Regions from separate parts of the Homo sapiens genome. Here regions 1, 2, 3, 4, 5 and 6 are each linked to region 7. Evidence: promoter capture Hi-C in 16 types of primary human blood cells and fetal thymus (Javierre and others, 2016). All regions are on one chromosome and are shown on one strand. The core of a region is centred on a gene start or on the middle of the fragment in contact, and the rest is flanking DNA. Distances in the headings are between cores, read along the strand shown. Region 1 holds the start of SANBR (SANT and BTB domain regulator of CSR). Region 2 holds the start of TMEM17 (transmembrane protein 17). Region 3 overlaps USP34 (ubiquitin specific peptidase 34). Region 4 overlaps EHBP1 (EH domain binding protein 1). Region 5 overlaps LOC105374764 (a long non-coding RNA gene). Region 6 has its middle 4.0 kb from the start of C2orf74-AS1. Region 7 holds the start of CCT4 (chaperonin containing TCP1 subunit 4).

Region 1 (4,148 bases), core at 710-3,209, 820 kb after region 7:
CTTGTTTGCCTAGTACTTGCATCACTTTTCATACCACACAATTTGGGAAGCATGTTAGAGCACATAGTGCGTTGTTGTTGTTGTTGTTGTTAAGACGGAGTGGCGCTCCCTCTCTCATCAGGCCAGAGTGCAGTGGCGCGATCTCGGCTCACTGCAACCTCCGCCTCCCGGGTTCAAGCGATTCTCCTGCCTCAGCCTCCCGAGTAGCTGGGACTACAGGCACGCACCACCACGCCCAGCTAATTTTTGTATTTTTAGTAGAGACAGGGTTTCACCATGTTGGCCAGGATAGTCTCGATCTCCTGACCTCGTGATCCGCCCGTCTCGGCCTCCCAAAGTGCTGGGATTACAGGCGTGAGCCACTGCACCCGGCCAGGGCGTTTTATTATAATTTGTTTGGGCCTTGGTAGAAAGCAATCTAAAATGGAATTCAGGGCAAGGATCTTCCCTGAGAGCTCATTTCTCTTCACTTCCAAAAAGATTCATTTAAAAGTTCAAAAATATTACCCACGTCAAACACTTAAAAGCTTACATTTCAAATGTGATACTAATTTATGCTATACATGTTTAAGAGTACTTTAAATCATCCAAATGAGAAAAAAGTTTTTCTGTTGACTTTCTCTTTATACAACTGTACTAGGCAAGGGAAGACCCCCCAGCATTAATTCTAGTTAAATGAATGTCCAAGAAATCAGAGTCTGAATTTAAGTATAAAAGGCATAGCATTGATGGATAATCCTTAATAAAACATAAATTATCTCGAAATAGCTGTTATAGTGCACCTCATTCAGGAAAGTATAAATTTATCAAAAACGGTGACAAGAAAAAGCTCAAAGTTCAAATTACTATGAAATCCACTCCCATTCATAAAATATCAAAATCTTGACAATATTTAAGGTAAAATACGTTATTTACCAAAAATAAAAATCCAATATGTTTAACAGACTTCATTTTTTAAGAACATACTTCCCCTCCCCTCCCCGACCCCCTTCTCTTGGTTTATGTATTTAATATACATGTATTAATTAAGAAGACTAGTCTAAGTCACTTCCACACCAGATAGAGGTCTACAACAGGAATCTGATATATTTTTTTCTTATTTCAAATAGAAAAAAAAGCTCTTGGAGACAGAGACGTTTTCCCTTAGCCAGTGGAAAGATGGGAAGAGAGGGGGCCCCGTGGGGCAGGCAGGCAGGCAGGTCAAAGGCCTCTGGCCTAACAGAGGGCGGCGGTAACACCGAGTCATCCCGGACCGGGAAGAAGCCTTGTACCCAGGCTTCCTGACTTCTGCACACACAGGAGATCGGAGTCAGCTGGAGGAGAAAGTAAAATCACATCCCAGAACCGGCATGAGGTCAAAGCCAGTCAAACCTTGGGCCCGGAGGCTCACTACGCGGCGCGTCCTCGGGGCACCCCCAGACCTTCGCGCCCCGCTCCCGCCCGTGGAGGCACAGAAACTCCAGGGGCGCAGAGCGGACAAAGGCGCCGGGCAGCGGGAGCGAGGCGGGGCAGAGGCCCGGGGCGCGGCCGGGCGCGCAGAAGCTGGGGTTCCCGCCGCTGTGCGCGGGCGGGACGGTCTGCAGGGACATGGACCGGGCGGGTGACGGGACGCGGGCCAGCTGGCTGCTCGAGGCGCGGCCGGCTGAGGCTGTGCACGGGGGCGTTCGGGGGCGTTTGGGCAAGTGGGACCCCGCCCGGGGTGGGAAGCCGCGGCGGGAGCCGGCTGGCTGTGAGCGGTACCGCCCCATGCCGCACTTCCCGCCCCGCGGTGGGCACCCGAGCCCCCTCGGCGTCTCGCTCACCTCCACAGGGCCGCGGCTGCCCTCGCAGCGCCTCTGTTACCTGCAGTGGTCGGCACCGCCCGCGCTCGCGCCCTGAAGCTGCCGCTACCGAGCCCGCAACCCCGTCCGCAGCGCCTCACACCCCGCCCCCGCCCGCTTGCAGGCGGCTGCGGAGACTAGCGCCGAGGGGTGGGGGAGCCGCCGAGCCGACGCCGCCCGGCCAATCGCGGGCCAGCGCCGCAGCGGCGGAGCCAATGAGCGCCGAGCCCCTGCCGGGCGGGAGGGCACCGGAGGGGCGGCGGCGGCTGACTGTCGCCTTGCCTTGCCTGCTGCTTCTCCTTCCTCCTCTGGCATACACTCCCAGGCTTGTCGCAGTGCAGCGTCCCCACCCTCCCAGCGTCTTGTCTCTTAGCAACCAGATCCTAGGAGCCTGATCTTAGGTGACCAACCCTGAGTCCAGAAGAAAGGGGGATATACAGGAGATAAAAGATTAAAGAATGGATGAAATTGTTCTTGGTGCAGATCATTTGGTACACCGCTTAGGTAGAGCGGAAAGATCGCATGATGAGGGACACCGAAAGTATCTTTTAGACCAAGGTCTTTGGGTAAGGACCTGAAGTGTCTTTACCAGGAGGTAGCTCTTTAAAAATGTAAATAGCTCTGGATTACAAATTCGGTTTTCATACATTAATAGGGTGTGTGTGTGTGTGTGTGTGTGTGTGTGTGTGTGTTATTGTGAGGAACACTACTATTGGGCATCTAGTAAAATGCAAACGGCTCAATATTGTAGGGTAACTGCTACATGTCAACATTTCTATCTAATTTCCACTTGGTCTATTCTGAGAACCAAAATTAAATGTTAGGATTAGAAAGAACAGAAAAAGTAAAGCCTTAACCAAATGAATAATTACTACGAGATCTGATGATTAAGTAGAGATTAAGTGGTTCACTGTACAGAATGTCAGGAGTTTTTACCAATTGTATCATCCTGTGACTTTCTGCAGATCTTTTACGATTTTTGTTCCACAAAGACATTAAAGTGGCTGGGTGCGGTGGCTCACACCTGTAATCCCATAATCCCAGCATTTAGGGAGACCAAGACGAGAGGATTGCTTGAGCACAGCCTGAACAACAAAGTGAAACCCTGTCTCTACCAAAAAAAAAAAAAAGTTGTTTTTTTTTTAAGTTAGCTGGGCGTGGTGGCCCCAATGAGCTATGTTTGCACCACTGCACTCCAAGCTGGGCAACAGAGTGAGACCCTGTCAAAAATAAAAATAAAAATAAAGTTAGGCAAGTGTCGTATCATAAGATGTTAGGTTAAGTCAGGTAAATTCTTTTTTTATTTTTTTGAGATGGAGTCTTGCTCTGTTGCCCAGGCTGGAGTGCAGTGGCACCGTCTGGGCTCACTGCAACCTCCACCTCCCTTCAAGCGATTCTCCTACCACAGCCTCCTGAGTAACTGGGATTTACAGGCGCATGCCACCATGTCCAGCTAATTTTTTGTATTTTTAGTAGAGATGGGGTTTCACCATGTTGGTCTTGAACTCCTGACCTCAGGTGATCTGCCCGCCTCGGCCTCCCAAAGTGCTGGGATTACAGGCGTGAGCCACCATGCCCAGCCAGGTAAATTATTATTATTTTTTTTTTGGAGACAGAGTTTCGGTCTTGTCACCCAGGCTGGAGTGCAATGGCGCGATCTTGGCTCACTGCAACCTCCGCCTCCCTGGTTCAAGTGATTCTCCTGCCTCAGCCTCCCGAGTAGCTGGGATTACAGGCGTGTGCCACCACACCCGGCTAATTTTTGTGTTTTTAGTAGAAATGGGGTTTCACCATGTTAGCCAGGCTGGTCTTGAACTCCTGACCTCAGGTGATCTGCCCACCTCAGCCTCCCAAAGTGCTGGGATTACAGGTGTGAGCCACCACACCCAGCCCCAGCCAGGTAAATTCTTAAACAGAAACTGCTTGCCCTCTACTTCCCCTCTTTCTTCTTTCATATAGGCTGGTACTTAGTTGTGATGGTGGTACTTTACAACCATGAAAACAAGAATAATGCATAAGGGGCTGGGCATAGTTAGCTCACGCTGTAATCCCAGAACTTTGGGAGGCTGAGGCAGGAGGATCACTTGAGGTTAGGAGTTCGAGACCAGACTGGTGAAACCTCATGTCTACTAAAAATACAAATATTAGTCAGGCGTGGTGGCGGGTGCCTGTAATACCAGCTACTCCAAGGCTGATGGGGGAAAATCACTTGAACCTGAGAGGCAGAGGTTGCAGTGAGCCGAGATGGTGCCACTGCACTCCAGCCTGGGCTACAGAGCGAGATTCCATCTCAAAAACGACAAACAAAGAATAACACATAAGGGACTG
Region 2 (4,022 bases), core at 253-2,752, 620 kb before region 7:
CAGTTCTTTTTTTCAAGCCAGTGTGCACACGCTCTCTCCTCCCCTCCACTCATACACATAAATTTTGCTAAATTAGGTTCATTCTCATTTAGTTTTATTTCTGCTGTATTTTTACATAAAGTTAAACTATACCATTCAATATCCTTTGCAAGCATTTTATAAGCAGCTGAAACATACTCCATTGAATGTATGTGCTCCAGTACATTTAATCAGTTGCCCATTGCTGTTTTCTTATTAAAAAATAATCAGTCACATGATGTCTCTCTCTCTCACACACACCCCTACACCTCTAGACATTCTTTAAGCTCTGCATTCGTTCTCTATTTCTCTCCAGAAAGGTTGTACCGATTTACAGTTCCACTGGCAAATGTGAGGGCTCCTTGTATCGCAGTCCAACCCCAGCTCATTTCTTAGTATAGGTTTGTTTTTAGGATGGTCGAGCTCAAAGCAGAACTAAGGGATCTGCCGTTTTGTACACGGCCGAGGCGCGCGGCTCCCTGGGCCTGGAACGCGCTCTGAGCGCGCCGGTCCCTTCCAGGTTGCGCGGGCTCCGGACGAGACCCAGCCCAGCCGGGCAGCCCCGCGCGCTCCCGGGTCCCGCCGGCCTCGCGCCGCCCGGTTGCCGTGGGAACCACGGAGCCTCGGAGCGCCCGCAGACTAGCCCGTGTCTGAGGGGGTGAGGGATACTGAGGCCCAGGCATGGAGCTGCCGGATCCGGTGCGCCAGCGGCTGGGAAACTTCAGCCGGGCCGTGTTCAGTGATTCCAATCGGACCGGTCCAGAGTCCAATGAGGGTCCGGGTGAGTGACCGAGGCCCGGTGCAGGGGGTGTGGCCTGCCGAGGGCTTGGCGTGGATTTTGGAGCGTCCAGAATTTGCCCGTACCTAAAATGGCGATGTCGCCTTCAGCCAGTTCTCCGCAGTGCGGGAGAGCGCCTTGGAGGAGGGGCCGGGCCGGACAGGGAGCTGAGGCGCTGGCGGCCTCCCGCCCCCGGCCGGGCCTGGTCTCCGCGTGGTGCTCCCTGGCCAGCTTGTTGCAAGCGCGGCAGCTGACGTGGGGCCGATCTCTGTGCCGCGCAAGGCCCATCATTGTCCCGGAGAAACCCCAAAAATAAAAAGATAAAAGCCGCCCTTGCTGCACAGGCTGGTCCCCCGCGCGCCGCGAGAGCGAAGGCCCAAGTTGTTTTGCCTCTGCGGCGCCCGCCCCGGCTTTTCTGTCCAGGATGACGAGGAATAGCCCAAGCAATCCCACCTCCCCCGTCCCCACCCCCACCCCAGGGAACAAATTTGCCTTTTCCCTTTTCCTAGCAGAACAAGTATGTTCCTAAGCAAGGCCATTTTCTCGTAGAAGACATTAAAAAAAAAAGTTAATGAGTCCTTTCAAACCACCATCCACTCCCACTGGCATGTGCCATACTAGCCGGGCGTTCAACAAAACTCACCCCTTCCCTGCCTTCTCCTCCTCCCCTATATGTAACTCTTATCATAAGGTAACAAAATACCATGATGCTTCTGCGTCCTTTAACTTGATGTCAAGTGATAACACAGTTTCCTCCAGAACAGTTTCCTCCTCCTACATCATGATGGTAGACAACACACTGTCAACCAAACCCATGTGGTTTTCATCATTCAACTCTGCTGGGAAATATCAATCTTTTCCTCTGCTTGGTTTTAGAGAATTTTTAAAAGGGACAGAGAAAAGTAAAGGCAGTTCCCAAAGCTGCATTTTGTCACCTTGATCACTTGCCTATTTCCCAAATGTAGGCCTTTATGATTTAGGATGTACAGAGAAAAATGTGAAAAAAATAGGTTTTCACGTTTCTGGTTCCAAGGATGAGGCTTAATGAGCACTAACGTCTGATAATACAAGGTAAAAAGACGTTTTCTGAAAAGGACCAGATAGTAAATATTTTAGACTTTGTAGGCCATATGGTCTCCACGGCAGCCATTGACAATAGTTATTGAATAGGCAGGGCTGTGTTCCAATAAAACTTTATGGACACTGAAATTTGTATTTCATATGGATTTCACGTGTGGAAAAAATATTACTTTTTTAACCATTTAAACGTGAAAAAACATTTTTAGCTCATTGACTGTACAAAAACAGGCAGCTGGCCAGTTGTTTACCTATCCCTGATTTATATTGTATGTTTTAATTTAAATTCCATTTACAGAACTCAACTTGAACTTTTGCAAAATTTAGTAAGTTTATGTCTTACGCTTTTAAGGTTCATTTACATATTAATTTGATTTTCATTTCCATGATTATAAGTTTGATCTGCTGAAATATGGACATAGCATAACCTTTAAGATGTTAACACACAATACTTCTAACATGAAAACCATTCTTTGCAAAATTTGACTACAGTTTCTTCTCAAAGGTACTGAAATGTTCAGCTTGCCCAATTTATTATTCTTTCCCAAATTTTCTTCTTTGTGGATTGGAAGTAGGTTTGATTATTTGTACTGTAATAACAAGTTTATGTCATTACCATGTCCGCAGCTTTGTACTGTTGCTATCGAAAAGATCCTAGGCTGGTGAGTTGTCTTCAGATTTAACAGATTTTAAGAATTCATTCCTTTATCAGTGGTAATTTAATAAACAGTTGCAAGCAAAAGTAGATCATAATAATCAGGCATATTCTTGGAGCTAAAAGAAACTATTTTGCTGTGAGAGACCATGACTATTTCTTATATTTTAAAATAATTAAGTGACAGATAAAAACACTCAGCTATGGAGAAAAGGAGAAAATAATGTTTTTAAGACATTTATTTTAGAGCCTTTAAAATCTTACGTGTACAGCAACTGATTTCAATATATGTGTCTGCTCTTAAGAATTTAGTCAAATTTAGGATGTATTTTGTAGGGCTCAATTTTAAAAATCAAATTCTTAATCTAGGACCCTGCTCTCTTACATAAAAGCAGAAAGTGTTATGGAATCAACCTTAGGTAAATGGAACTCATGTATCACAAATGGCTATGCTAGTAATGTCCTTATGACAGTATACTTTCATTAATTCATTCTTATGTGTATTTGATATTCACTGCGTGGAAAGCAAGATGCTAGATTCTATGAGGGTCTCAAATTAGGGTAGGACATGGTGTGTGCTTGCAATGAGCCTGTAGATAAGTAGAAGAGAAGAAGGAAAGAGGACTAATATTTGTTGAGTGCCTACTAAGTGTGCCAGGCACAGTGCTAGGATGAAATAATTTATATTGGCTCTAATTCTCACAAACAGCCTGTGAGGAAGTTTTAATTTCACTATTTTACAGATGAAGAAATAGAAGCTCAAAGAGTTTAAATAATTCATGTCAAGTCTGACATCCAGGGTCACAGAGGTTTGGGGAGCTCGGATTTGCTTGAACTCTGAAGCCCATGATCTGTTCAGTACACCAGACTGTTTTTTGGGGAGGGGAGTGTGGTTCTTTGCTAGCACTTCTTATTGACAGTTTAGAGTGGTAAGTACCTAAAGGGGAAAGGTATTTCTGCTGAGGTGGGGGAACTGATGAAGGAAGTATTGATGGAAAAGATGACACTGAATTGGACTTTAAAGAATGGCTAAGATTAGGGTATGCTGAAAAGAGAGATGTGTCTAATTATAACCTTGGTAATCCGTTTTTGTATAAGATTAGTTTATCTGTGGGAGATTCATTTTTATTTATTTTATGCATTAATTTTATATGCTATTTACATAGAATTCTACAAAAGAGGCAATGATAATTATCTGTTGAATAGGATTTATGTTGATATTCTACATTAAATCTATACCAGTAGTATATGCCAAAAAGTCAGAAGACTGTAATGGCAAAATGGTAAAATAATTGAAAAATATGAAACGTACCCCCAAATAGCCAATATTTGACCTAACTGGTATTAGGATGAATATTCCTTTTACTGTCAATGATTATAAATAGGCATAAAATTTGGTGTTTTACTGAGCCAATATTATAGTTATTAATTCTAGGGAATAGGATATATATATATAGGGCATAAACCCAAGATTCATCATTTGTTCCTTTTCTG
Region 3 (4,285 bases), core at 1,483-3,982, 680 kb after region 7:
AAATACAAAATTAGCTGGGAGTAGTGGTGTGCACCTATAGTCGCAGCTGCTTGGGAGGCTGAGGTGGGAGGATCGCTTGAGCCCAGGAGGTTGAGGCTGCATTGAGACATTGTACTGCACCCTGGGCAACAAAGCAAGACTCTGTCTCAAAAGAAAAAATCAGAATCCCTACAATGCAGGAAAGAGAGTGAGTGTACAAGTACCAAGAAATTGAAAACCAATGCCATAAGAATACAAAATATCAATCTTTCTGACTTCAAAGGGGTCGGGATAGGATTTATTAAGTTTCAGTAAATTTGTCTCTATCATATTCACATAAATAATATTTGATCTAGTTACTAGATGTGATGTCCAGAATTAAATATACTTTGACAAGTACTAGATGAGTTAGAATTTATCCCTCCATGTTATTTATTGCCCTTGACATCAGTGAAATGTAATGTCTTTTATTGTAGAATGTCCTTATCTATTAGAAATTTTCATGAAAATGGTACTTAAGTCAGTTTTTTGCTTTGAAAAATAAGAAGCTGGGGGTTTCAGTTCATTGACAAGTATGTGTTAGAAGAGCAGTCCTCTCCTGACATGTGCATATGAGTCTATAAAATCACAGCTAGTGATTTTACTAAAATATTTGTTTTTACTTTTTATTCATCAGGAAATTGAACTGAGCATCATTCTAGAAAAGCATTTTAAATGTTGGAACAAAGGTTTACCTCATATACACTATTAATTTAAGGGTTATTTAGGCATTTAAAATCTTTGTGACAAAGTAATGATTTCTCATTAATTAAAGAAAAAGTGGATAGGAGATGGTGTGGCATGCCTCTGGGTTTACATTTGAAGTTACAAAAGTAGTGCTTTAAGCAGTAATAAGACTAAAAATGAATTGTATTCACTTACAGTTTTTACTCTTTCTAAACTTGTATTTTAAGATTTGTTGAGTTCTTTTAGTGTTTATTATTATTGTTATTATTTGTATTTTAGTAGAGACAGAGTTTCATCATGTTGCCCTGGCTGGTCTCGAACTCCTGAGTTCAGGCAATCTGCCCGCCTCTGCCTCCCAAAGTGCTAGGCATCAGCCACTGCGCCCAGCCAAAATTTTTTAAATAGAATTTGTTACTGATTTTATAACTTTCTGAATGGAAGTATAATCTAGCTTATTTGTATAATTTTAAGAGTTGATTAATGAACGTAGAAATGAGAAACTGACCTTCTAAAATGCTATAGGGTTAAAAGATCATATGGCTTATTTGGCTTTTTTAGGCAGTAGAAGAACTGTTTAACCTGATGCAGCTGTTTATAGCTCAGAGGCCAGATATGAGAGAAGAAGAATTAGAAGATATTAAACAGTTCAAGAAAACAACCATAAGTTGTTACTTACGTTGCTTAGATGGCCGCTCCTGCTGGACTACTTTAATAAGGTAAAAAGATGTTTTTAGTTTTGTCTTGTTTATTTCCAGTGAGATGAGGACCATCCTTTTGATGTTTAAAGATAAATCATTTACATTGGGGAAGCATTTGTGCATGTAGCCACTTTGGAACATTTTGAAGGTTCATGAACTACTTTTAAACAGTTTTTGGTCTGGCTTTGGTTTGTATTTGTGTATGTTTTATCATTTTAGGGTTGAAGGGAACCTTTATGTATAGCCTTCTACCCAAAGCTTGAATAGTCTTGTTTATGGCAATTTATCCTAACTCAGGCTTGATAGTTCAGTTCTAGAGGCCTCCAGGAAGTTTTCTGCACCTTTGGATGAGTCTGTTAATATTTTGCATTCTGTTTAGCCCAAATATATCTATCTGGCTTTCTGATCTATATGACTTGGCCAAAATTATAAAACATAGTCTTTATAATTAATTTTCAGAGCTACAGAAGTTATTGAATGGTTACAGGAACTACTACAAATTACCCTTAATTCCCCTTAACCTAGAGAAATAAAGTTCAGGCTAATTTCTTAAATTCTTCTATGTATTACATCTAAGACTTGGAAGTGTTGTTTTTTATTAGGCACATTTTTTTTAATGGTACTTTACTGAAGACTTCACTGTAATATCTTAAGCTACTCAATCTAAGATGAGGTTATTTCAGATTGTCTTCTTTGGAAAGCTTTCAAATGTGAGTCTTCATTAGTAAACAGGGAAATTAACTACGCCTTTGCCGGATTTCTTAAAGGGATTGTTTTTAAATTTTGGATTAATTTTGAATACAATTGTTTTCCCAAAGTTTACTACTTAAAGCTTTATTTCAAAAAAGATTTAGAGCAGCCTGGGCAACATAGTAAAACCCCATCTCTATATAAATAAATAAGTTAGCAAATAAATTAGGGTGTGACGGCATGCACCTGTAGTCCCAGCTCCTCGGGGGGCTGAGGTGGGAAGATCCTTGAGCCCAAAAGGTGGAAGCTGCAGTGAGCCATGATTGTGCCATTGTACTCCAGCCTGGGTGACAGAGCGAGTCTCAAAAAAAGAAAAAAAAGATTTGGAGCTTTCTTAACTCTTCTTGAAAAAGGAAAGGAATAAAGTAGAAGGATTTCCAGTTGTAGTCTATAACAACATTTTTCTGGTATCTAATGAAAGAAGACCTGTTAACAGTAATATAGCTGTGTGAGTAATTATAGTCATGTGTTGCATAACAACAGGGTTACATTCTGAGAAATAAATTTTTAGCCTATTTCATCATTGTGCAAACATCAGAGTGACTACTCACACACAACTAGATAGTAGCGCCTGCTACACCCCTAGGATATATGGTATAGCCAACTGTTCCTAGGCTCTAAATCTGTATAGCATGTTACTACACTGAATACTGTAGGCAATTATAACAGAAAGGTAAGTATTTGTGTATCTAAACGTATTTAAACATAGAAAAGGTACAGTAAAAATATGGAATAAAAGACAGAAAATGGTACACTTGTGTAGGGCACTTACCATGAATGGTGCTTGCAAGACTGGAAATTGCCCTAGGTAAGCCAGTGAATGAGTGGTGAGGGAATGTGAAGGCCTGGGACATTATTGTACCCTACTATAGACTTTATAAACACTGTACACTTAAGCTACACTAAATTTATTTTAAAATACTTTTTCTTCATTATTAATGTACTGAACTTTTTTTACTTTATAAGTTTTTTTAACTTCTTGATTCTTCTATCGTAGCACTTAAAACACACTATCATAACACTTAAAACACACATTTTATAGCTGAACAAAAGTATTTATATCTTTATAAGCTTTTCATATTTAAATTTTTTTTCTTTTTAAATGTTTTCGTTAAAAACTAAGACATAAACACACACAATTAGGCTAGGCCTAGCAGGGTTGGGATCATCAGTATCTCTGTCTCCCACCTCCACATCTTGTCCCACTTGGGAGGTCTTCAGAGGCAGTAACTAGCTTAGAGCTGTCATCTCCTCTGACAATGATGCCTTCTTCTGGAATCCCTCCTGTAGGGCCTGTCTAAGGCTGTTTTACATTTAACTTTTTTTGAAATAAGTAGTAAAATAATGATAATATAGTAAATACATAAACCAGTAACATAGTCATTTATTAACATTATCAAGTATTAGGTACTGTACATAATTGTGGTATACTTACAAGACTGGCAGTACAACAAGTTTGTTTATACCAGCGTCATCAGAGACATGTGGGTAATGCATTGTGAATGTTACCATGGCTATGAAGTCACTAGGCTAATAGGAATTTATCAGCTCCATTATAATCTTATGGGACCACCATTGTGTTTGTGATCCATCATTTACCACAATTTCATTTTGTGGCACATGACTGTATTTTATAAACTATTTTCAAGGCTGACACGTTTTTAGTATTTTTTTCCTTCATGTTACTCTTTTTTAATTACCAGCTGATGAGTGTTTAGATAATATGGTGAATTTTATGATTATCCAGAATTTAACAATCAGAAGATGAGCCTATTATAAAAATCAACATTGTTTATGTGGAAACTTTAAAAATATTCCCATATCTTCTGCCATTGTAGATAATTAGCAGTTGATTAGATATTAATAGACTTTTTTTTAGTTAGAGTTTATTTAATATTATTTCCTTATGCTGCATTTCCAGGAAACAGATGAAGCAGTCTCTTTTCTGTAGGTAGGAAAGCAGAGAGCTTAAATGATGATTTTATTTCTTTTTATTTTTTCATCACCTAAGTGTTGTGTTCTTATTCAGACTTCTCAAACTGAACTTTATGTTTTCTTCTAGTGCCTTCAGAATACTATTAGAATCTGATGAAGACAGACTTCTTGTTGTATTTAATCGAGGATTGATTCTA
Region 4 (4,140 bases), core at 370-2,869, 830 kb before region 7:
CTAATTGGAAGTTGTACACATCAATTCCCCTCATATTACATTGACTAGAATTTAATCACATGGCCACACCAAGTGCAAGGAAATCTGGAAAATATAATCTTTATTCTGGGTAGCCATATGACTCTTTAAAATTCAGAAATAATATATTTTTAAAATACCAAAAAAAAAAAAGAAAAGAAATACATCATAAAATGGCTTGGCACGGTGACTCGGCTGGGCACGGTGGCTCACATCTGTAATCCCAGCACTTTGGGAGGCCGAAGCAGGCGGATCACGAGGTCAGGAGATCGAGACCATCCTGGCTAACACGGTGAAACCCCATCCCTGTTAAAAATACAAAAAATTAGCTGGGCATGGTGGCATGCACCTATAGTCCCAGCTACTCGGGAGGCCGAGGCAGAAGAATTGCTTGAACCCGGGAGGTGGAGGCTGCAGTGAGCCAAGATTGTGCCACTGCACTCCAGCCTGGGTGACAGAGCAAGACTCTGTCTCAAAAGAAAAAAAGAAAAGAAATACATCATAAATATCATAAAACATCGCTACAGGACACATACGAACACACAGACATGCATACACAAATGCTGGCAAATTAATTCTACTTTGGAGAAATTAAGTTAGTTTTCTTAGCCCAACATTTGCTTGAAATTATTATAAAAAGGAAATAAAGTTATAAAACCATAGGAATTGATTTTGCTTCAGAAGCAAAAATATGTAGTTCCTCTCCCCAAAAGTCAAAGTATTGTCAAAACTTAGCTCATTTCAGCACTGTACTTCTGCAGGCACATTCCCTGGTTACTCCTACCTCCCTGGTCACTCCAACCTATGCTAGTTCATCTTTCTCTAACACTCTTAAAAGTTCAGGTTATATTTACAGTCTTCTTCCCACCTACTCTAACCTTTCTCTCTAGATAGTTCTCTTCATCACTCATTGCTTATTTATCAGATAAAAAATAATAACAACAATGGGTAAAATTTTCTGGGTGCTTACTCTGTCAGACACTGTTCTAACCCCTTTATTACAGGTATTATCTTACTTAATCTTCAAAACAACTCTATGCTGGAAGTAGTGTTATTATCATCTCCACTACTGAAGAAGTACCAAGAGATAATTCATCCAAGGTCACACAGCCAGAAAATATGTATTTTACACAGACACAGACCTCAATGTTTTCAGAAGCTGTTCTAAAGTTTCTTTCTATAAGGCTGGAAAACTGGCACAATGGTCTCTTCTCTGTTACTTATGTAGTTTGAGTGGAATAAGACTAAACTAATAGTTTAGAGCCTGAGCACAGAGAACACAGAAAGGTGCTAGACTCTGTATTCCCTAAACACTAGCTGCAAGTAACTCCCACGACTTAAAGCAGAAGTCAGCAAACTTTTTCTTTCTTTCTTTTTTTCTTTTTAAGAGATAGGGTCTCACCATGTTACCCAGGCTGGTCTTGAACTACTGAACTCCTGAGTTCATGGGATCCTGCCACCTCAGCCCCTCCCAAAGTGTGAATATTTACAGAAAAAAATTTGTTCTCTATTTTTTTAGAGAACAAAAGAGCCAGTTTGGATCAGGCCAGAGTTTGCCTGCCAACTCTTGATCTAGAGGCATATTTTGAGTCATGTGTAGACATAATCATGATGTAAGCACATCAATATCCAATTATGGCATTAAGTGGCTCCACTATATTCCTTAAAGAACCCACCACAATTGAATTTTGTAAAACTGTTCTTCACATAGAATAAAGACTTAAAATCTGGAAAAAACACAATATGTAACAATTACAATTTAAAAAAAATCAGTTTATAAGATACTATCATGAAATTACAAACAAGTAACATCAATTTAGCATTTGCTAAAATCATATGCCTTTGACAACTTACAATATAGAAAAGACTGCGCTATTTTGTTTCAAGGAATAAGATGTTCAAGATTCACATAACTTGCAACATAGAAAGTACTGCAAACTAACCTCTCTAGAAGCAAGCCTAGAAACTAGGGAACAATACCTTTCTTACCTTGCCTCTTCCTTTTGCAGTCATCTAACCTTCTGCCCCATCTCTCCCCTCATACATTAAAGATTTTAGCACCAGGCCAGGTGCCGTGGCTCAGACCTGTAATCCCAGTACTTTGGGAGGCTGAGGTGGGCAGATCATTTGAGGACAGGAGTTCGAGACCAGCCTGGCCAACATAGCAAAACCCTGTCTCTACTAAAAATACAAAAAAACTAGCCAGACATGGTGGTACATGCCGGTAATCCCAGCTACTTAGGAGGCTGAGGCATGAGAATCACTTGAACCCAGGAGGCAGAGGTTGCAATGAGCCACTGCACTCCACCCTGGGCAACAGAGTGTGACTCTGTCTCAAAAAAAAAAAAAAAAAGAGTTTAGCACCTGACTCCCTGTCTTAAATGTTTCTCCTCCCATTATTCTTGGCAACTTCAAGAGCCACACAAATAATCTGTCCACACATTGGCCTCTAAATTCCTTGACCACCCTCTTCATACCCAAAAAATCTTTTACTCCATTTCACCTCAGCCACCAACTCTCATGGTTATATACTAATAGCTATAGTCTCTAACAAGGAATAGGAATACCTGGAAGGTGCAAAAGATTATCTACTCAAACACAGCAAGAAATTCTACTTAAATTTATTTATTTTAAAGGTATTTATTTTATTAAAGGAAATTAAAGTATACTCATATTTCATGTATGCAGTATATTAAAAATATATTGGGATATGTGCTCATTTTTGTAAACAGATATGCACATGTGATCCAAGGACACCACCAGTATCTTGTCATTAACATTAACCACATCCTCAAAATCAAGCATCTCACACTCTTCCACCTCCCATCTTTCCAGCTCCCAACCCCAACAATTCTTCAACCTCTTTAAAATCTTTCAATCATTATCCTTTTCATGCTTTCACTGACTATCCCATCTTTCACGTACTTACCTTCTCCTTTTCCAGCTTATATTCCATGGTTCATCACTAAAACCACTCCTGCACATTTGCTCTCAATTTCCCTGTCTCTCTTCCCCTCAGTTATACATTCCTGACAAAATCCAATCCTGGTCAAATCCAACTCTATCTATTCCATGCCTGCACCAAAGCACTGAACACAGTTGGATTAAAATATGCAAACTTGCTGGTTGCATTCACTTAAAATTTATAATCACAAAGTTAAGAAGGTCATCACTACTACCCAGCAATCCCCCTACATTTCCCTAGTCAATTCATTCTCACTTTGACAACTTCATACCTCATCTCCTCAGTTCTTCAACAACTGTCACCTCCCTCCCAGCAGATGATTTCTTATATCATTTCCCTGAGAAAACAGAATGTCCACATCCTTCCCAACCAAATCTACCAACCTATCTGCTTCTCTACCCATGTACCCTGCTTCTCCCCTTGTAACAATGAATGGTCCCTGCTTCTACCTAAGTTCAACGTTTCCACTTGTGTTCTGGATCCTTTTCTCTTTCTCTCACTCAAAGACTTTTCTGTCCTAAGGTTACCTCCTCTCCCACCACATCATCCATTTTTCCTTCTCTACCAATCATTTCCACCAGCATTTACACATGTTGCAATATCTGCCAAGCAAAAAATGTACCTTGAACCCTTGTCTCTCTCCAAGTATTACCTAGTTCTCTGCTTTGTAGCAAAATACTCCAAAAAAATCATCATACTCACTGTAATCACTTCCTTTCCTCTAAGCCAACTTAATCAAGTCTTCATCTCCACCACTCCATTGAACCATTCCTCAAAATCATTAGTTCTTTCCATCTTGCCAAATCCAACGGTCACCTTGCTCAACCTCTCAACAGTATTTGACACAGCCAAATACTCCCTTAATACACTTTTTGCAGTTGGTTTCTTAGAAAACACGCTCTCCCAATTTTCCTATCTCACTACTGCTTGTTTCCTGTCTCCTTTGTTGGCTCCTCCTCTCCTTCCTCACCTCTATATGCTGAAGTGCCTCAAGGCTCAGTCTTCAATCCTCTTCTCAATCTGTATTAATGCATAGGAAATTTTCTATCGCCCCATGATTATAACTACTACTTACATACTAAGATGATCCAGCCTCTGAGTTTGAGACTTTTATAATTAACTGCTTAACTAAGATCTCCATCTGGATGTCCCAAACG
Region 5 (4,275 bases), core at 726-3,225, 540 kb before region 7:
AGCTCACCTTGGGGGAGTTGTCAAGAACTTCACTCATCACTACCCCAGGGCCCGATATCCCAATGTCCACCTGATGTCTGGCAAAAAACATGCTTCCTTCTAGGAATAGGAGGTGCCTGTTGTGCACAGAGGCCTTTTCTCAACTACCGCCTGTCTAATTTATCTAGCAAATGGCCCCAGGAGCTACCCCTCTACATCTCCCCCTTGCCCGAGGGCATCCAAAGGGGCTCGAATAATATGCTGATATGCAATTTGGGGGCCTGAGGTGCACAGCCATGCATCACCCACTCCTGGAAGGTCCCCTCAACCCAGGGCTCCCCAAGAGCAACGGGGTGGCAGGCCAGGCACTCTCTGCATGGAGCCTGGGCAGCCCCTGATTACTCACCTCTTTGGCTCAGGGCCCGAGAGCCAAGCCAGGCTTGGGGCTAGGCCTGCAAGCTAGTCATGGAGGTGGGCCTGGGCCTGGCCCTCAGGGAGCTTCCATTCCAGCCATCAGGCAAGAGAAGGAGACCAGGAGGAAGAAAAGCCTCGTGGAGAGCAGGGGCCCCATTCTGACCACAGCTCCCTTCCCTCTTCCAGCAGCAGTGGTCTGAGGTGGTACAAAGCTTCCACTGCCTCCTCCTTTTGGGCAGCTCTGAGGCCTGAGGATGTAATTAACTAATGATGCACCTGTTCTTCATTAACCAGTGAAGCAGGGATGCCCAACCACAGCTGGGATGGAACCAATACTGGGGGAATTAAAGATCAAAAAACACCAAAGGCCAAGACAAAGCTGATGGAGTGGCTTCTTCCCACTCACCCCCCACCTCCACCCCACCAGCCCTTACCAGAGACTGAAAGAGATTCCTCCTCACTTATTTCTCAGGGGATCTTGCTGAAGCAGGAAATTTCCCTGACCCCTTGTGGGTGGGAACTGGAGTGTGGGTGTTTGAACTAGCTACTTCAGTGCTAGCTGGGGCAAACCCCACTCACTGGAATCCACCACACTCAACCCCTCCAGGGATGGAGCATGCAGGTGAGCGGGTGCAGGAGCCAGAGAGAGCGCTTTTGGGTGACAGCCGGAACAAACTCTGTACTGGCCCTGCAGCAGTGTCTAGGGGGGTGCCCACAACCCCTAAAGCCCCAGAAGGAGTGTTTCAGTCAATGCTCTTTTAGCTTTGCCATCTGCAGATGGCTTAAGTGTTAACAGCTCAGTGGAGGGTCAGTGTGACAGCCCTTTGCACCCACACTCAAATTCTTATCTGAGGTCTAGGAGGAATGAGGTCACACAAACAAATTGGAGATGATAAATGCAGGGGATTTTATTGCTGATGAAAGTGGCTCTCAGTGAGAAGGGGAGCTGAGAAGGGGAGGGAGTGGGTAGGTAATCTTCCCCCGGAGTCTGGCCATCCCTGGCCAGACTCCTCTCCAAAGCTATGCCATCAAGCTGTCCCTCTGAAGTCAAGCCCCTTCTCTCCGACATTCAACCATAGTCTCTGACATCCAACTGCTTCTTCTCTTCTCTCTCTGCTAGTGGAGCCTGGGGCTTTCTTGGGCACAGGTTAGGAGTGGGGCGGGCCATGGGTGGTTTTGGAAAAGGCAACAGTCAAGCAGGAAAACAGGAATGTTCTCACTTTGGGCCATAGTTTTAGGCTTGAGGGTGAGGCCCTTGCTGGAGACCCACCCACTTCTGCCCAGAATTTCCCTTCTCCTGTCCCTATCATTGCCACCCAAACCTGGGCAAAGGTAAGGCTGAAATTCCCTTGGCATGAAAACAAGATGGACATGAAGAACTGCTAGACCAGGAGTCACTCCAGCCACCGGCCTCCCCTTTTCTGAGCACTTCCTTCCTGGTGCTTCCTCATCACTCAGCTTTCCTCGGAGTGCACCCTCAAGTCTACGGAACCTGCTTCCAGAAACCTACTGGCATTAGTCATTTGCACCTTTGTGTGATTTCAGTCCTTATGTCATCTCTCCCACCATAATCCCTGGTCCTCTGAGTGGAACATCAAGGTCTTGTAGCCACTTTTCCTGGGTTGAAGAACTCCAGGCATGGCAAAGCCCTGGAAGAGATATGGGGTGGAGGAGGGATGCAGAGGAATTCTGGGTCCTGAAATTAGACCATTTAAGTGAATCTTGCCATCTCAGGCCCCGCCACTCCGAAAGTGTTGGCACTTCTCAGAGTTATGTCCTTGGCCAAGGTCCCTCCACACTTCTCTCGGGTCCTCTCTGCAGCACACAGGACTTCCACCACCACCCATTCCCGATGCCCTCAAATCCTTACCTCTACCCGGTGTCTCTGAGTGCCCTGCCTTGGGATCAGGCTGGCTACTGAATGCTCAGTTTCTACCTGAACATGTGGTGTCCCCTTCCCCAGATGCCATCTGATCCTTCTTCCATAGCTTCATCAGTGGTACCATTCTACTTGGGTGACACCTGCCACATAAGCCCCTCTCCTCTCCATCCATCATTCCACTTCCTTGGTTAGAGCCCTAGAACCCTCACTTACCTATGAGAACAGTCTATGTTTATTGTGAGTTTGAGGAGTCCTTGTAGGTGGTTTTTCTGCATGGAAAAGATTAAAGATAACTTTGGTTTTTAAAAAAAAATATATAAGTTTTTGGCATGATCAATTTAAAAAATCTTCCTTTAGCTTTTTTTCCAACAGTAATAATTTACTATAAAGAATTAACTAGGCATACATTTGTTGACTGTATCACCAATAATTATAATTATACTTTACTGGGCAACATTTTCAGTAAGTAGAGCTTTTAAAGTTCTAAGGATTGAGCACTTTCAGGTGTCATTTCTCTGTCTCTCTCTCTCCCTCGATATATATATATATATATATTTTTACCATCTTAACCATTTTTAAGTGGCACATTGTTCAGTGACATTAAGTATATTCATGTTGTTCTACCACTGCTAACATCCATCCACAGAATTCTTTTCATCTGCAAAACTGAAACTCGGTACACGTTAAACACTAACTCCCCATTCTCCTTCCCCTGCCCCAGCCCCTGGCACCACCATCCTGCTTCTGTCTTTATGAATTTGACTAATCTAACCTTACATAGGTAAAATCATATTGTATTTGTTATTTCATGACTGGCTTATTTCACTTAGCAGAGTGTCCTGCAGGTTCATCCATGTTGAAGCATGTGACAGAATTTTCTTCCTTTTTAAGGATGCATAATATTCCACTGTATGGCTATACCACATTTTGTTTATCCATTCATCTGTAAAAAACCTTCCTTTAGATTTTAAGTTCTTTGAAAGATTTTCCCCCCATTTATAACTGTAGCAAATTATAGCAAACATCTTTAGAATGTTGTTGGTTAATATTTGGTCCTATTTATAAGCTTATGTATATACATTCAAACATTTTAAACTACTTTTATAAATTTAATATATGCAATTTCTTTTTAAATACCTCAATTATCTGACTTAAACAAAATCTTAATAACTTTTTGAAAATCTAAATATAATAAACTGATAAATATAGCAATACTTAAATTATTCTAAGTCTTCCAACATAGAAATTTATTAAACTTTCAACTTAAAATCACAAGTCTAACTTCTTCAGTTACACTTTTAAATTCAAATTATAGGCCTGGCACAGTGGCTCACGCCTGTAATCCCAGCACTTTGGGAGGCCGAGGTAGGCAGATCATTTGAGTCCCAGAATTTGAAACCAGCCTGGGCAACATGGAGAAACCCCATTTCTACAAAAAACACAAAAAGATTAACCAGGTGTAGTGATGCATGCCTGTACCTACCCAGGAGGCTGAGGTAGGAGAATTGTTTGAACCTGGGGGGCTGCACTCCAGCCTGAGTGGCAGAGCAAGACCCTATTTCCAAAAAAAAAAAAAAATTCAAATTATAAGCCTCAGCTGTTCCTCTCATAGACCAAATTCTCTTAAACATCATAAGTACTTAAAATGCCAACTATGTGTAGAGTATTCCTAAAACAAAAGAATTAATACTGGCCAGGCGCGGTGGCTCACACCTGTAATCTCAGCACTTTGGGAGGCCAAAGTGGGCAGATCACGAAGTCAGGAGTTCGAGACCAGCCTGGCCAATATGCCAAAACCCCGCCTCTACTAAAAATACAAAAATTAGCTGGGCATGGTAACACATGCCTGTAGTCCCAGCTACTCGGGAGGCTGAGGCAGAAGAATTGCTTGAACCCGGGAGGTAGAGGTTGCAGTGAGCCGAGATCGCACCACTGCACTCCAGACTGGGTGACAGAGCAAGACTCCATCTCAAAAAAAAAAAAAAAAAAAGAATTAATAC
Region 6 (4,007 bases), core at 105-2,604, 710 kb after region 7:
ACCTAGATACTCAGGTGGTAGGGTCCAAGAACGAGGTACAGAGATAAGGCACTGCTGGCCATCTTGCCTGCCTCACTTCTCTAATTTAGGGAAGACAACAATAACCTCACTTCCATGCAATGCGGATATTATCTAGGTATTTCTCAATTACACCTGTAATACCTGCAGTCACTTTCATCCATTCATTCATTCATCCAACAAAGATTTATTAAGCACCTACTATGTGCCAGGCATTGTGCTAGATGCTGGAGATACAGCAGTGAACAAGACAGACACCTTCCATGCCCTCATGGAGCTTATAGTCTAGCAAGGAAGTCAGACATTAAACAAGTAATTACACGAACAACTGATTTTCATTCCAGAAAACTACAATTAACAGTTCTGTAGGCAAAATGGTTCATGCTGTGTACAATACTAATTATCACTAATTATGGTCTTAACGATGACTAGCTCTCAACTTCCAGACTACAATTTATTCTGAAGTATAAACTTGCTTCTGGAGCCTCTGACCACAGTGTAGAGTATAACTTGGGTAAATAGAAAAGGGACCCCTCTGATTCACAAGGGATGCCTTCTTTACCCGTCTTAAGTGCCTTCAGGTAATCTCCAAGGGCCTCCCTGACCTTGGCAGTGCCTGCAGTTTTCATAAGATCCTTCAGTATAACCCCATCTCCTTTCTTTTTACTCAACGTTGACCTACAAATCAGAAAAATAGAAACCAAAGAAAGATCTGGTTTGATGTATTCTTACAACATTGGGCTGTATGGATGAGAGAACTATGGCAGTGGAGGAAGGAAAGAAGTAGATGTAAGAGATGTGATAGGGCAGGATTTTAAGGGTTTTTAATCCAGGGTCCATGACAGGGTTGGGGGCCAAATCTTGCATGGACTTCATAGAATGTAAACCCTTTAATTTGCATACAAAGTTGTGCATGTGTATGTATATAAATCCTATTGCTGATGTGGTCCATGGCTTTCATGGGGTCTAGAAATGCACTGTCCAGTATGGTAGCCACTAGTCACATGTGGCTACTGAGAACCTGAAATATGGCTGGCCTGAATCAAGATGTGCTGTGTGAAATAATACGTGCCAGACTCCAAAGACTTACTACCAAAAATGAATGTAAAATACCTCATAATTTTTATATTAATTACATGCTAAAATCTTTTTTATATATACTGGGTTAAATAAAATATATTATTAAAATTAATTTCACCTGTTTATCTTTTTTTTTTTTTTTTTTTAAGAGCTTGCATCTCGTTATGTTGCGGAGGCTAGACCCAAACTCCTGGGCTCAAACAATCCTTCCCCTCAACCTCCCAAGCAGCTGGGATTATAGGCATATGCCACTACACCTGGCTTTAATTTTTTTTTAAGGGTCTCCCTGTTGCCTAGACTGGAGTTCAGTAGCATGACCATGGCTCACTGCAGCCTCGAACTCCTGGGCTCAAGTGAGCCTCGTACCTTGGCCTCCCAAAGTGCTGGAATCACAAGTGTGAGCCACCATGCCCAGCCACAGCTTTAACTTTTTAAGTACGGCTACTAGTAAAACTTACACTGCACATGTGGCTTGCATTATATTTACATGGAACAGTGCTGGTATAGAACCCAAAAGCCACCGTAATTAGGGAAATCAAGTTCCCATACAACCCAGCCTTGGATTATATACTTTTTTGGCAGAGAGGAAAATTGGGAAAGGGAGAAGAGTAGAAGACAGGCAGAGGGAAGGAAGAAGAGAGGGAAGAAGGGGGAGGCCAAGGGAGAAGGAAGCAACAGAGGGCTGTGGGGATGTCTCTAGTATTCCCAGAAGAAAAAGGGGTCGATTTGAAAAAATTTAGTGTCCCGATGCTTCAGTTGAGGGGGGCCTGATCTCGGGCCCCAGTTTGAATCTAAAGAGTTTGTTCCGTAATGCTACTGAGAGATTAAATCTTAAAAACCAGTTAAACATTCTGTTGAAAAATTTCTCAGCTGATGGATCTGAATATAACAAAGTGGAATCTCAGGCCCTGAGCAGAGGAACCACATAACTGAAGACAGAGGTCTGGGACAGCCCCCGGCCTGTGGCACTGCATAACCTTCGTGCCATAAGACATACTGCTGGGCAGGAGTCAGCCTATCTTGAAAAGCCTTCATGTTAAATACGTTCACAAATCAAAAAAAATCCTTTGTCAGACTATCCTCGTTTGAAAAATATAGCGGCTGTACAAATGGTCTCACCCCCAAAACCCAGCTTTCAGCCAAAAGAGGGCACTAACTTGAAGCCAAGCATGGGAGTTACACAAGGCTCTGTCTCCCAAGAGAACCAAGAGAGCCACAAAAGCAACACGTACTAACTGGGTAGTTTACAAAAAACCGTGAGGCATAACCAAGGGAGAGATAGCAGCTAAAGGCTGAGACTTTTCACCATTAAAGGGAAACGGCAAAGGTGCAGGAGAAGAGGGAGAGTCACATTCATCAAGCCATGCAAGCTGCCTGAGCAGTTTACAGTGCACACACTGTCACATCTAACGTGACAACACCCCTGGAAGAGAAATTAACCCCTTTTCACAGATGAGGAGGCTAAGGAGGGTGCAGCCAGCTGCCCAGGCCCCTTGCCTGGTCCTCGGGGGAGCTCAGGGCTTCCTGGGGCTTACTCTCTTTCCTGTACCACTCCAGCTCCACACAACACGCTGCCCCCACAGTACGGCAATCCTTCTCGGCAAACAGGCCCTCCACAAGGCACCCGAACTACCACACAGGAACCACACAGTCTGATCAACACTATTTGAAATGCCCAATGTCTGTAGCAGAAGCTTGACTGAAAAAAGAACAAAAGAAATAGAAACTTGATCACATACCTCAGTGTCATCTACTTCATTTTCCTCAGAAAGATTGGGTATTTCAATCAATCCCTTGTGCTTCACTCCAGATTCTTTAACGATGCCTAAAATGAGCAAAATGGGTTCTTCAATTATAATACAAAGTAACAACTGGGCCAGGCACTGTGGCACATGCCTATAATCTCAGCACTTTGAAAGGCTGTGGTGAGGATGGATTGAGCCCAGGAGTTTAAAGACCATCCTGGGCAACAGGGAGACACTGTCTCTACAAAATAAAATTATCTGGGCATGGTGGCGCACACCTGTGGTCCCAGTTACTTGGAAGGCTGAGGTGGGAGGATTGCTGGGAGGTCAAGGCTGCAGTGAGCCTTGTCTCAAAAAAGAAAAAAAAATTGATTTTATGAAAAACTGCCCTACCTCACTGAATAGCTCAGCTGCCCTCACAGGGTTCCACCACTCCAGGGCCCCCTGAGCAGCCACGGAAGAAAGGTCAGGCAGGCCATGGCCAAGGAGAGGGCATGAGGAGTCAGCAGTCCGCCGTCCTGAGAGGAGTGTGGGGCAAGTGCACCCATATTCCTCTTCTTGTCCCAGGGTACTCTTTGCCTGGGCAAAGCAGGACAAAGGAGTACCCTGAAGGGGAGAAGCAGTCACAAAAGCGATGGAAGGACAGAAAGGGACAGTACGTTCTGACCACGGAGGGGAGGGAGGCTCTGGCTTGAGGGCATTGTGTGGGGGATACCAGGCAGGTAGACTTCTCTCAGGACTAGAGTGTTGCCTCCTCCCCAGTGGGTCCCAGTTGCCACCCTAGAGACTCGCTGCTGGAGGAGAGCAGCTGGGAGGTGTTAGGACAAGCCCTAACAACCCGTCCTCTGGCTGCTGCCTGGCAGTGGCTGGGTCTTATCCTTGCAAAGGAGCCAAGAGAGATGGAAAAGACACAAGGCCCACAAGGTTCCTCAGGCCTTAGGGCTCGGTGCTGGGGTAGTGGGCAGGGAGCCAGACTGCTATGATCCAGACAGCAGCAGACACAGGGGGCTGCAAGAGAGGCAAACTCCCAGCCAGAGGAGTTCTGAGCCTGTTCTGAGGCGAAGGGGGAAGGGCTGAACACCCTCGTCTGTGAGAAAGGCAGCCAGCAGGGCAGAGGCTCGAGGCCAACTCACTGGACTGCTCTGGGGCACACACTCCAGATAG
Region 7 (4,011 bases), core at 851-3,350:
TCCTGGCTTCAAGGGATTCTCCTGCCTCAGCCTCCCGAGTAGCTGGGATTACACCCCCGGTTAATGTTTTGATTTTTAGTAGAGACGGGGTTTCGCCACGTTGGCTAGGCTGGTCTTAAACTCCTGACCTAAAGCGATCCACCCACCTCGGCCTCCCAAAGTGCTGGGATTACAGGCGTGAGCTACTGAGCCAGGCCCCTAGTGCTAATATGCTAAATGTGTGTTAAAGAACAACTTGGCGAGGTGGCTCTCGCCAAGCCTGCAATCCTAGCACTTTGGGAAGCCGAGGCGGGCCTATCACCTGAGCTCGGGAGTTCGAAACCACCCTGTCCAACATGGAGAAACCCCGTCTCTACTAAAAATACAAAATTAGCCGGGCATGGTGGTGCATGCCCGTAATCCCAGCTACTGGGGAGGCTGAGGCAGGAGAATCGCTTGAACCCGGGAGGCGGAGGTTGCGGTGAGCCGAGATGGTGCCACTGCTCCAGCCTGGGCAACAAGAGTGAAACTCCGTCTCAAAAACAAACAAAAACAAACAAACAAACAACACCACCACCACCTCATAATTACAAGATTAAGTACCTTTGAACATTTGTTTCTGAACCTACCACACGCAACTGTCACTTTGCAGGTGCTTAATAATTGTGAGCGAACATTCAACAAACCTCATTTCATAAACTTCCCTACTGAAATATAGTGGTCATAGGAGACCAGCAGTTTAGCTCATGGCTTCTGGTCCTTGCTTTGTATTGGAATACTGCTTCTATCTACTGACTCGTTTACCCTGGGCTTCAGTTCCTTCTTTGGGCTCCAGTTCTCTCACCTTTTAAGTAAAGGATTATTGTGAGGACTAAACGAGATATAAAACGTGTAAAGGTTTAGCACTGTGCTTAGCAGATAACGGAAATAAATGATCTTTATTATAATGTTTACGTTCCCTAAGAGTCAGTGGCTACGTCATGCAGGAGACACTAGTGTAGAACAAGCGGGCGGTGGTAACTAGACAGACCTGATTTGGCAGTCTGTCAAACCTCCACCACCCAGTATCAACCAATACGAGATAACTAACCTCGCCTCATTCCAAATCTCCCTTTTCTGACTCCCTTTCAAAATGAACAAAACTGCATAAAATGCAGGTCTATGTGGCCGGGCAAAAACAGACTCAGTCATATCCCTTAGAGAGTTATTCCGGCGCCCACCCCACCTCGCGGATAGATCCAGCCGGAGTTAAAGGAGGGCACCTCCGGGTGGGCGCGGTGGCTCACGCCTGTAATCCCAGTACTTTGAAACGCTGAGGAGGGTGGACCGCTTTGAGCCGGGGAGGTCAGACCAGCCTGGGCAACACAGCGAAACCCAGTCTCGCTATGTTTCGAATACAAAAATTCGCTAGGCATGGTGGCGGGCACCTGTCGTCCTGGCTAGTTGGGAGGCTGTGGCGGGAGGATCGCTTGGGCCCCGGAGGTCGAGGCTGCAGTGAGCCAAGATCGCCCCACTGCACTCCCGCCTGGACGACAGAGCGAGACTCTGTCAAAAAAAAAAAAAAAAAAAAAAAAGGCCGGGCTTCGTGGCTGACGCCTGTAATCCCAACACTTTGGGAGCCCGAGGCGGGTGGATCACCTGAGGTCGGGAGTTCGAGACCGGCCTGGCCAACATGGTGAAACCCTGTCTCTACTAAAAATACAAAAATTAGCTGGGCATGGTGGCGGACGCCTGTAATCCCAGCTACTCGGGAGGCTGAGGAGGATCGCTTGAACCTGGGAGGCGGAGGCTGCAGTGAGCCGAGATTTTGCGCCACTGCACTCCAGCCTGGGCAACAGAGTGAGACTGTATCCAAAAAAAGAAAAAAAAAAAAAAAAAAAGGAGGGGACCTCATAGCCGTGCAAGGTGGAGTGAGGAAATGCGGATGTCCTCACCACTCGCCTTTAAAATCGCGCGTTGTCATTGCTGCCTCGCGTAAAGGTTCCCCCGGCGCTCTTCACCCACAGCGCCCCGGGCGTACAATCTCGCCAGCCCGGAGCCCACCGCACGCATCCTCCTCGCCCGGCGCGCAGCGGACAGCCTCCTACGTCACGCCAGCGCCGCGCGGCAAGGAAGGCCCCCTTCTCCGCCTCCGCCTCCTCCCGACGCCGGCGCCGCTTTCTGGAAGGTTCGTGAAGGCAGTGAGGGCTTACCGTTATTACACTGCGGCCGGCCAGAATCCGGGTCCATCCGTCCTTCCCGAGCCAACCCAGACACAGCGGAGTTTGCCATGCCCGAGAATGTGGCACCCCGGAGCGGGGCGACTGCCGGGGCTGCCGGCGGCCGCGGGAAAGGCGCCTATCAGGACCGCGACAAGCCAGCCCAGATCCGCTTCAGCAACATTTCCGCCGCCAAAGGTATCACTCTCATGGCCTGACCCGCGGCGCCGCGGGGTTGTGCTCTGCGCTCTCATCGTGGGCTTGAGCGGGTTTGGCTCATTTCCCATTTCTTCGGGTGATCCTCTCTTGTCCTCCCTATAGAAGCAGCCCAGTGGAGGGATCCTTATTTCTGTTTTTCTGCCGATGATCGCCAACCCGGAGTATGGAGGCCTTTGGACTTGCCCCATTTTGCATCTTAATCTCCCTTAGTTTTTCATCCTGCACTGTGCATCATTCATATTGGAGCCGAAAGCAGTTCAAAATGCCGAGGATTGCATGCAGTCTTCACTAGGGATCTGACGCTTGAGGGCTGTCGCTTATTGCTTATTGGAACTGGTAGAATGCACAGTATCTTTCAGCTTTGTTATTCTTATTTAAAGAACTATTAAATAAACTTCACTTGGCACAACTGTTGAGACGAATTGGGTGAACTCTCCGAGTCTAAATTGGGGCGGGGCCCATTGTACTGGGATGGATGTGGGAACCGACTTACGTGTCGTGTTTGAAATAGTTGCGGAAAAGTTACGTTGATGTCGTCTCCGCATGTGCAGTGAAACATAGGCAAATCAAGAAACAATTATTTGTTTTTTTTGTGGAAGTGTGTGGCACACGTTGGAAATCAGGAAGACCAGAGTTTCATTCTCTGCTTCCGTTACTTCATGTCTTAGTGACCTGTAACCTCTGTGCCAAAGATTCACTTATAAAATTGGAGGAAAATGTTTGCTTTTTAGAGTTAAGATTAAGAGAAATCGAGTTGAAATAGAAAAATCTGGAAGGAAAAGTCAGGACAGAGGTTTAGAGATCTTGCCCGAGTGTATATTGAGTATAGTAGTTCTTTTGGGTTGGAGAATAGTAGTATGTTTACAGAAGAGGTGAGATTAGAAAGCTAGGTTGGGGCAGATGTTAAAGGCCTGGTGTCCTGGAAAGTATTTGGCTTAATCTCCCCCAGCTATGGGATCATTTCTTTTTAGCCATCGTGTAGGCTTGCTGTGAGGATTCAGTGAGAAAGCATATAAAGACCCACGTATATAAAGTACACCTTACATGTGTTTGCAGTCATCAGCCCAAGTAACTGGGAATGTGATGGCGCTAAGATAGGTAACGCTGGATGTAAGAAAAAGTAATAGTTTCTAACTTGTCCTAATGAGTTGGAAAGGTCAGAATGGCCAGATTTAGGAGTCATTTGTAAGTTTAGGAGATAATACACCTGGAAACGAAGGTTTGTAGGATAATTGTCTAGGGACCATAGTTGAAGCTTACATTTATTAGATTAGGAACAGAATGTTGAAAGATAAATTTTGGGTCGGGCAGGGTGGCTCACGTCTGTAATCCCAGCAATTTGGGAGGCTGAGGCTGGCGGATCACATGAGGTCAGGAGTTCAAGACCAGCCTGACCAACATGGAGAAACCCCGTCTCTACTAAAAATACAAAATTAGGTGGGTGTGTTGGCGTAGGCCTGTAGTCCCAGCTACTCGGGAGGCTGAGGCAGGGGAATAGCTTGAACCTGGGAGGCGGAGGTTGCCGTGAACTGACGTCGCGCCATTGCACTCCAGCCAGGGTGACGAGCGAAACTCCGTCTCAAAAAAAAAAAAAGATAAATTTGGGGGCCAAGAG

Evidence for each region. Contacts are between HindIII fragments. The CHiCAGO score rates a contact against its expected background, and 5 or more counts as called.
Region 1: the fragment with the promoter of SANBR here is called in contact with the fragment with the promoter of CCT4 in region 7 in 4 of 17 cell types (naive CD4 T cells, total CD4 T cells, naive CD8 T cells and 1 more); the score reaches 7.0 in naive CD4 T cells.
Region 2: a fragment that was not itself captured here is called in contact with the fragment with the promoter of CCT4 in region 7 in 1 of 17 cell types (monocytes); the score reaches 7.6 in monocytes.
Region 3: a fragment that was not itself captured here is called in contact with the fragment with the promoter of CCT4 in region 7 in 1 of 17 cell types (total CD8 T cells); the score reaches 5.3 in total CD8 T cells.
Region 4: a contact is called between a fragment that was not itself captured here and the fragment with the promoter of CCT4 in region 7, in 4 of 17 cell types (monocytes, neutrophils, naive CD8 T cells and 1 more). The highest score is 6.6, in monocytes.
Region 5: a contact is called between a fragment that was not itself captured here and the fragment with the promoter of CCT4 in region 7, in 1 of 17 cell types (M0 macrophages). The highest score is 5.5, in M0 macrophages.
Region 6: a contact is called between a fragment that was not itself captured here and the fragment with the promoter of CCT4 in region 7, in 2 of 17 cell types (naive CD8 T cells and naive CD4 T cells). The highest score is 6.0, in naive CD8 T cells.

Annotation. Positions count from the first base shown.
Region 1 is chr2:61,063,682-61,067,829 of GRCh38, reverse strand. SANBR (SANT and BTB domain regulator of CSR) reads right to left here and starts at 1,959. Exons shown (of 22, transcript NM_001129993.3): 1 at 1,803-1,959. RefSeq lists silencers at 1,360-1,419, 1,430-1,779, 1,810-2,179 and enhancers at 1,069-1,568, 1,569-2,070. The HindIII fragment of the contact is 4,406 bases long and covers 530-4,148 here.
Region 2 is chr2:62,502,807-62,506,828 of GRCh38, reverse strand. TMEM17 (transmembrane protein 17) reads left to right here and starts at 634. Exons shown (of 4, transcript NM_198276.3): 1 at 634-799. The coding sequence starts at 700. RefSeq lists silencers at 454-723, 934-1,103, 1,441-1,735. The HindIII fragment of the contact is 5,299 bases long and covers 1-4,022 here.
Region 3 is chr2:61,208,908-61,213,192 of GRCh38, reverse strand. USP34 (ubiquitin specific peptidase 34) reads left to right here. Exons shown (of 80, transcript NM_014709.4): 69 at 1,264-1,421; 70 at 4,216-4,285. Among named protein-coding and RNA genes, the nearest start is that of C2orf74-AS1, 33 kb to the right of the region's middle. The HindIII fragment of the contact is 989 bases long and covers 2,238-3,226 here.
Region 4 is chr2:62,711,485-62,715,624 of GRCh38, reverse strand. All of the region lies in intron 2 of EHBP1 (EH domain binding protein 1), which reads right to left. Among named protein-coding and RNA genes, the nearest start is that of EHBP1, 7.8 kb to the right of the region's middle. The HindIII fragment of the contact is 9,392 bases long and covers 1-4,140 here.
Region 5 is chr2:62,429,267-62,433,541 of GRCh38, reverse strand. LOC105374764 (a long non-coding RNA gene) reads right to left here. Exons shown (of 6, transcript XR_002959390.2): 2 at 2,489-2,544. Among named protein-coding and RNA genes, the nearest start is that of TMEM17, 75 kb to the left of the region's middle. The HindIII fragment of the contact is 2,736 bases long and covers 608-3,343 here.
Region 6 is chr2:61,180,236-61,184,242 of GRCh38, reverse strand. It overlaps the pseudogene AHSA2P. Among named protein-coding and RNA genes, the nearest start is that of C2orf74-AS1, 4.0 kb to the right of the region's middle. RefSeq lists an enhancer at 3,173-3,751. The HindIII fragment of the contact is 2,881 bases long and covers 1-2,794 here.
Region 7 is chr2:61,886,745-61,890,755 of GRCh38, reverse strand. It overlaps CCT4 (chaperonin containing TCP1 subunit 4), which reads left to right and starts at 2,100. Exons shown (of 14, transcript NM_006430.4): 1 at 2,100-2,375. The coding sequence starts at 2,249. It also overlaps a transcript of COMMD1 not described here. RefSeq lists enhancers at 831-1,390, 2,330-2,409, 1,951-2,510, 2,511-3,072. The HindIII fragment of the contact is 8,675 bases long and covers 1-3,653 here.